Regions from separate parts of the Homo sapiens genome. Here region 2 is linked to region 1. The links are contacts of gene promoters, found by promoter capture Hi-C in human tissues and cell types (Jung and others, 2019). All regions are on one chromosome and are shown on one strand. The core of a region is centred on a gene start or on the middle of the fragment in contact, and the rest is flanking DNA. Distances in the headings are between cores, read along the strand shown. Region 1 holds the start of TXNDC15 (thioredoxin domain containing 15). Region 2 overlaps SAR1B (secretion associated Ras related GTPase 1B).

Region 1 (3,530 bases), core at 748-3,247:
GGGCCGGGCGCAGTGGCTCATGCCTGTAATCCCAACACTTTGGGAGGCCAAGGCGGGTGGATCACCTGAGGTCAGGAGTTTGAGACCAGTCTGACCAACATGGTGAAACCCCATCTCTACTAAAAATATAAAATTAGTCGGGCGTGGTGGCGCATGCCTGTAATCCCAGCTACTTGGGAGGCTGAGATAGGAGAATTGCTTGAACCCGGGGAGGTGGAGATTGCAGTGAGCCAAGATCGCGCCATTGCACTCCAGCCTGGGCAACAAGAGCGAAACTCTTGTCTCAAAAAATAAAAAAATCAAACAAACACACATACAGGAAAGGAAAGGAGATAATAAAAAGGAAGGAGTAGTAACCACAGGGCATCCATGTTGGAGTATCCAGATCAGCTTCCTTTTCATTAGTCATAAATCCTTTTGGTGCTCTGTCCTGTTGGCTTTTCATGCACCTTCAAATCATGTATGGGGGTATGAGAAAGATAGTTTAAAAAGGAAAGGTTTGTTGTTCCACTGTTAGGGGTGAGGGAGGTACTTAGCGAAATGATGACTAGTAATAAGCTCTAGAACTGTGGGCTCTTTTATCCATGTCCATTGTTTCATATTCTTCTGGACCCACAAGATGGCACTTGAGGATCTACAACAGCAAAACCATACCAACGTATTTAGAATAAAAGAATCATCCACAGGGACAGATTAATGATGCATCTTTCTGGCCTAACAGTGTCTTTTTGATGGGCATAGAGATAAGGGGACTATGGCCACACCATCAGAATTGTATTATTCAATTAATAATGCCTACCACTTTGAAATGCTTCCTGTGCCCCAGGACACTGTGCTCATCACTTTACATCTCATTTCATCTATAAGACTCTATATAACGTCATTTCCACTTTACAGCTGAAGAAACTTAACTTTAAGTTACATAACCTGCTGACTGTGAACTATCACATGTGCTGAAGTTGGGATTCACCAAGCGGCCAAAAAGCACAGGTTCCCCTTACCATTGCTATGTTAACCAATAGACTGATGTATTTTAAATCAGTTTCTATTTTTTCAACCTCATAAGTTTGAAAAGCTGCACTCTGCACTGATTTAGCACTGACTGGTGGCTGCTTAAAGCTTGCCTTATTCCATTTTAGCAGGCCCCCCGGCAAAATACCCCAATTAGTGGTGTCATCCTCTCTATTCCAAGAATTTTCTCTTAAGACTCCCGCTCTGTGCGTTTGCTTGGGAATGCAGAGCCCTGTTCCTCATCTCCCCATCTATGCTTTCTTCATTCTAAGCCCTTTCCTATCTACTTTATGCTCGAGGTGGCTCCACCTCCACCATGAGCCAGAGCCAATGATGCTCACGGCCCCAACCATGATTAAAAAGAGATTGCCCTGCAAGGTAAATCAGTTAAAACCAACCTCTCCTGCCCTGAGTGGATAGGTAGGGTTAGGGTTGCCAGATGTCACGAAGTTACAGGATGCTCAGTTTTAAGGTATATCCCTTATACTATAAGGGTTATAGTAAAAAATATTCATTATGTGAAATTCAAATATAACTGGGTATCAGGTATTCTATGTGGCAACCCTAGGTAGGGGAGCACAGGTTAGGCAAGCGATTAGAAGATTTGCAGCCTCCAAAGTTTCTGCACCTCGATGGGACACTAGAACAGGAAGGCTCCTGGGCCTTTCTGGCTCTGGGAATGAAGCGTGGAAAACCCTCCTTAGGCGGGCGCAGTGCTTCAAGTAGCCAAGCTCTGACTTCCGAGGGAAGAAAGGAGGCCATGGGCCTCTGCCAGAGCCATGCTCTGCACTCTGGGGTCAGCAGAGTTCAAAACGACCTGCAACGTCTGGCGCTTAGCTCCTAAAGAGGTCTCCAGTCCAGCGCCGACGGCCAGCGGCTAGAGGCCGTCCGCCCGACTCCAAGATGGCGCCCGCCACAGCTGCCAGGTGTTAAGATGGCGGCGCGGGGCCGCGCCCGCGCTCCCAGGCTCTCCTCCCCCAGCCTTCCTCCGGCTGGCAGCACGACTCGCGTAGCCGTGCGCCGATTGCCTCTCGGCCTGGGCAATGGTCCCGGCTGCCGGTCGACGACCGCCCCGCGTCATGCGGCTCCTCGGCTGGTGGCAAGTATTGCTGTGGGTGCTGGGACTTCCCGTCCGCGGCGTGGAGGGTGAGTGTGGGCCGGGGGCGGTGCATGAGATGATGGGGCGAGCTGAGGTCCACCCGGGCGACGCTCTGGACCTGCGCGAAGGCCGGCGGTGCGCGACTCGCCCCTTCTTGGCGTCTCCCCGGGCGCGTCTCCCCGACTTCTCTCCCCGCGCACCGCCCGCTGGTGGCCCGCGAAAGGGGGCCGGTGGGCTGAGGGCCGGTGGACGGGAGCCCGGGGGTGGTTGGGCCGCGTTCAGGCCGCCCTCAGCCCGTGGCTGGTAGCCAGGAGGGACAGTGCGGTAAGCGCTGCTGAGGCATACCCTCTGGTGATAAGCAATTTATTATTAATAACATTATATCAAATACCGACATTGTTGTGGCCGTATTAGGAGCCAGGAACTGTGCATCGTGCTTTATTTACATCATTATCCCATTTAATGCTCCCACAAACCCTGTCAGATCGGTTCCGTTTAGTGTCTCCATTTCACAGATGAAGATGCTCAGGCCCCGCCTAAGTTTGCGCTTCTGATACGTGGCAGAAGCCTGTCTCTCTGACGCCAAAGCCCAGTCTGGAGTCCACGCTGCTGGACCACTGTCTTAAGGAGGCCAGTCTTGCTCAGCTCCCTGCATGAAAAACAGACGAGAAACACGGGAGACTCCCGGTAACCCCCAACTTGCCGGTAGGGAAGGCAGCCACTCTAGAGGCATGGCGAGGGTGGAGAGTGGAGGCCTTACTTTCATGCTCCTTCACCCCACTCCTCATAGTCCTGTTAAAGTCCAGACCCTCGGTCTCGCTTGTCATTTAGACCTTAACAGGAATAGGCAGGTCTTTCTTTTCCCTGGGGTGTCCTGGATGGAGGCAGGACAGCAGAGAGTTGTGGAGAAGGGTGAGTCATAGTAACACAATTACCATGAATGAAAGCGCTCACTGTGTACCAGATGCTGTGCTCAGTGCTTTACGAGCATCATCTTTTGGAATCTTTACTGTTTTGTTTTTGTTTTTTTAAGGGATGAGGGCTTGCTCTGTTGCCCAGGCGGGAGTGCAGTGGCCCATCATGGCTCCCTGCAGCCTTGAACTCCTGGGCTTAAGTGATCCTCCCACCTGTTTCCCAAAGTGCTGGGATTACAGATGTGAGCCACTGCTCCCGGTTTATGTAATTTTTATTTTTATTTTTTTTTGAGATGGAGTCTCGCTCTGTTGCCCAGGCTGGAGTGCAGTGGCGCGATCTTGGCTCACTGCAACCTCTGACTCCCGGGTTCAAGCGATTCTCGTGCCTCAGCCTCCTGAGTAGCTGGGATTACAGGTGCCTGCCACCACACTGGGCTAATTTTTGTATTTTTAGTAGAGATGATGGTCCACCATGTTGGCCACGCTGGTCTGGAACTCCTGACCTC
Region 2 (3,278 bases), core at 255-2,754, 270 kb before region 1:
TTGTATGGAGTAAGAACTACCTGAGAGCAAATAAGAAAAAAGAAAATTGGAAACAAGCACTTGTTTTCTTCTACCAGGATATAAAATATGCCAAAGAATACAAAAGAGCTATAGGATAGGAACAAAATCTCCACATATCTCAGACTGACACAGAACAAGCTGTTTTATTCCTCAGATATACATGTCTCTACAATGAAACTGCACACAAGGTCCTACTTATTGCTTGCCCCAGAGAGTACTGTTAAATGTACAGAGACTGGGAATATATCTAAATGTGGAGACACTGGTGCCTGTCATTGCTTTTGGGGAAGAGGCACAGATTACCCCATTGGGCACCAATAAGACTGGAGCACTTCAGAATTAGACAGCTGGGATGGAACTATAGAGCCTACCAAACTGAGAATCAACCTTGTGTACCATAAATGTGCTTTTCTTCAGAAGGCCAATCCCACAGGGACTAGGACACAGACCCCATCAGCAATGGTAGTGGCTGCATTACTAATAAAAATACACATGATTCAGGGATACATGGTATCAGGTGCAACTGACCACAACCATCTCATGGTAAATACCTAAGCCTTGAGAGCCTTAAACGCTATTCTAAATATTCTGAAGGAATCTCCTTTCCCAACAACCACTTCATATGCCTAATATTAAATACTCAAATTTTCAGAGTATACTAGCTAGATAAGACACATTTAAATGAAACATTTGCCCAACAAGGATGCCAAACATTAGAGTTTGTTTTATTGCATGACGTTTGCATAAGAAAAAAAGTTATTGAAAACTGTAAGGCATCATGCAATCATTGAATAAGCTAATTATTAACTGTACACTTAAGATAGGTGGACATATAATCTAAAATTTAAAAACTAGTTCCAGAAAAGTACATAAAAAATTTAACATGATGAGCTTTTAAATATGGTTTATAGTTTCATGTTGTTAAAAAGTGCTTCAAATGTACTGCTGGAAAGTTGCTCTTTACAAATGGCGCTGGGGTGATGTCAGATTATAAACTGTAAAAACCAAGTACTTTTATGGAATTAGAAAGCTAACATTGTGATACTCAAACTTACTTGAATCAGTTTTCAATTCTCATTCAAATTAAGTTGATTTAATATTAATAATCTAAAAAACATCTGTTTTATAACCAGCAAAAGTCTATTGAATTCAAGTTATGCATGTTGAGCAATCAAATCTCTGAGTAAGCCTGAACGTTGAGACCTGGAACCAATGTGAGTTTGTGTTAATCAATGTACTGTGCCATCCAGCGGAAGCCTTCTCCGTAACCTTGTCTTTTGAGCACACTACACATGAAAACTTCTAAGGGTCGGGCATTCAGTTCTTTCAGAGATATACTCCCCTAGAATAGAAGAGAGACATTTCGTTGGAATTTTATAAAATTAATAAAGCCCCACATCCCAGCAGAATTATAGGTTCTATTTTAGAACAAAGAATGGCTGTGATAAATCCATGACTGTGATAAAGTCGTGGCTGCTTGGCATCCAAGCCCCATGAACACACAAGAAGCCTCCTTCTCTCACTCTACCTTAGGGCAGGATGGCCACTCAGTGGGAAAGAGGTTAGCTTGCAAGATACCCAAGAATAAAAATAATCTGACTTAGAAAAAAATCCAAACTGGCTTCACTAATATTAAAGACAAACATTCCCTGAGAAGGTTTATGACCAAACAAAGCATTTCCTAAAATTAATATCAAGCTAATTTATAAAAAAGAAGACAGAAAACAGACCAAAGTCTACTTTGTCTGACTTAAGAGCCTCCTGCGGACCGGGCGTGGTGGCTCATGCCTGTAATCTCAGCACTCTGGGAGGCCAAGGCGGGCGGATCACCTGAGGTCAGGAGTTCGAGACCAGACTGACCAACATGGAGAAACCCCGTCTCTACCAAAAATACAAAATTAGCTGGGCGTGCTGGCACACGCCTGTAATCCCAGCTACCAGGGAGGCTGAGGCAGGAGAATCGCTTGAACCTGGGAGGCAGAGGTTGCAATGAGCCGAGATTGCACCATTGTACTCCAGCCTGGGCAACAAGAGCAAAACTCCATCTCAAAAAAAAAAAAAAAGAGCCTCCTGCTATATGCTGCAGTATTTCTCCACCCTGAAATAGTATATGTAAACTAAAAAAATTTTGTAAATCTCTGGGGTTCTTCCACTGTTTATCTGGATTTTTTCAATGCTGATGTTTCCCCCAAAATAAATCCTAGGAAAAGTGAATACCAAAACAATCCGTCTTAAAGCTTATTATAAAGTATATGTTCAGAAAACCGTAAAATATTCCAAGTTTATGTCTTATTTATCTCTGGTAAACTCAGGGCCTAAACACACTACTGGTATACTTAAACACTCAAATATATCGTTTGGTGGCTAATTCTGAAAATGTATGATAAATAACTTTGAAAGCTTTAATTTAGTTTCCTATAAGCACAAGCCTTAGGCATAACTCATCCTTGACATTTTTGTTGTCACCAAGAAAATGTTTCATTCCATGGTAGAAAGAAATGAGGACATTAAAAAGACCCACAGGTATAAATGACAGTTTTCTTTAAGAAAATGATAATGGGCTTGTATAGTTGGACAATAGTAATTTAAGAAGACATTTGTACTGTAGAATTAAACACACCCATCATAATTTTTTTTTTTTTTTTACCTTTCCTGTTGTCTGACCATATAAACCAAACATCTCTCGCAACCTCTCTTCACTGATGGCTTCAGGTCTGTCGATCTTATTCCCAAGAATCAGTATAGGCACATTAGCAATGGTTTCATCTGTCATTAGTGACTGAAAAAAACAAAACAATACAAAACAAGAGTTGATATGAAACCATCCAAAGAGCTTATTTTGATATGATAAAACAATAAAGGACTCATTTTCTACCATATCATGTCATACCAACGTTCTTTGTCAAACTTTCCCCACATTTTAAAGTGACCTCAATGAAACCATAAGCTAAATTCTTCTGTCTTCCTAAGGCTCTTCCTGTAAATGTTTACTCTGCTCATCCTTTAAAGGAGTGACATAGAACGTATAGAGCCAGCACCTTAGAAGTGAACAGATGTGGTTTCACTTCTGGCTCTACTGCTTTTGAGATGTGACTTTGGGCAAGTTAGCCTGACTGAAGCTCTAGAGAGAATTAGGAACAGTAGCATCCACCCTATGAAATTGAGAATTAAATCAAGTAATACGCACAGTCTCTGGAACAAAGTAGGAACTCAGGCATTCTCTGTCCTTGTTTTGTAACCATAGAACCTACCTGGAC

Evidence for each region. Contacts are between HindIII fragments. The study calls those that stand out against the background at their distance.
Region 2: a contact is called between a fragment that was not itself captured here and the fragment with the promoter of TXNDC15 in region 1, in 1 of the 25 tissues and cell types used here (lymphoblastoid cells).

What each region holds. Positions count from the first base shown.
Region 1 is chr5:134,872,374-134,875,903 of GRCh38, forward strand. It overlaps TXNDC15 (thioredoxin domain containing 15), which reads left to right and starts at 1,998. Exons shown (of 5, transcript NM_024715.4): 1 at 1,998-2,157. The coding sequence starts at 2,055. LOC124901071 (a long non-coding RNA gene) reads right to left here and starts at 3,025. Exons shown (of 2, transcript XR_007058943.1): 1 at 2,871-3,025; 2 at 2,458-2,759. RefSeq lists enhancers at 1,674-1,723, 1,744-2,033, 1,965-2,670, 2,564-2,633 and a silencer at 2,274-2,383. The HindIII fragment of the contact is 4,499 bases long and covers 1-2,971 here.
Region 2 is chr5:134,605,704-134,608,981 of GRCh38, forward strand. It overlaps SAR1B (secretion associated Ras related GTPase 1B), which reads right to left. Exons shown (of 7, transcript NM_016103.4): 6 at 2,669-2,800; 7 at 1-1,363. The coding sequence ends at 1,247. Among named protein-coding and RNA genes, the nearest start is that of SAR1B, 25 kb to the right of the region's middle. The HindIII fragment of the contact is 3,877 bases long and covers 1-3,278 here.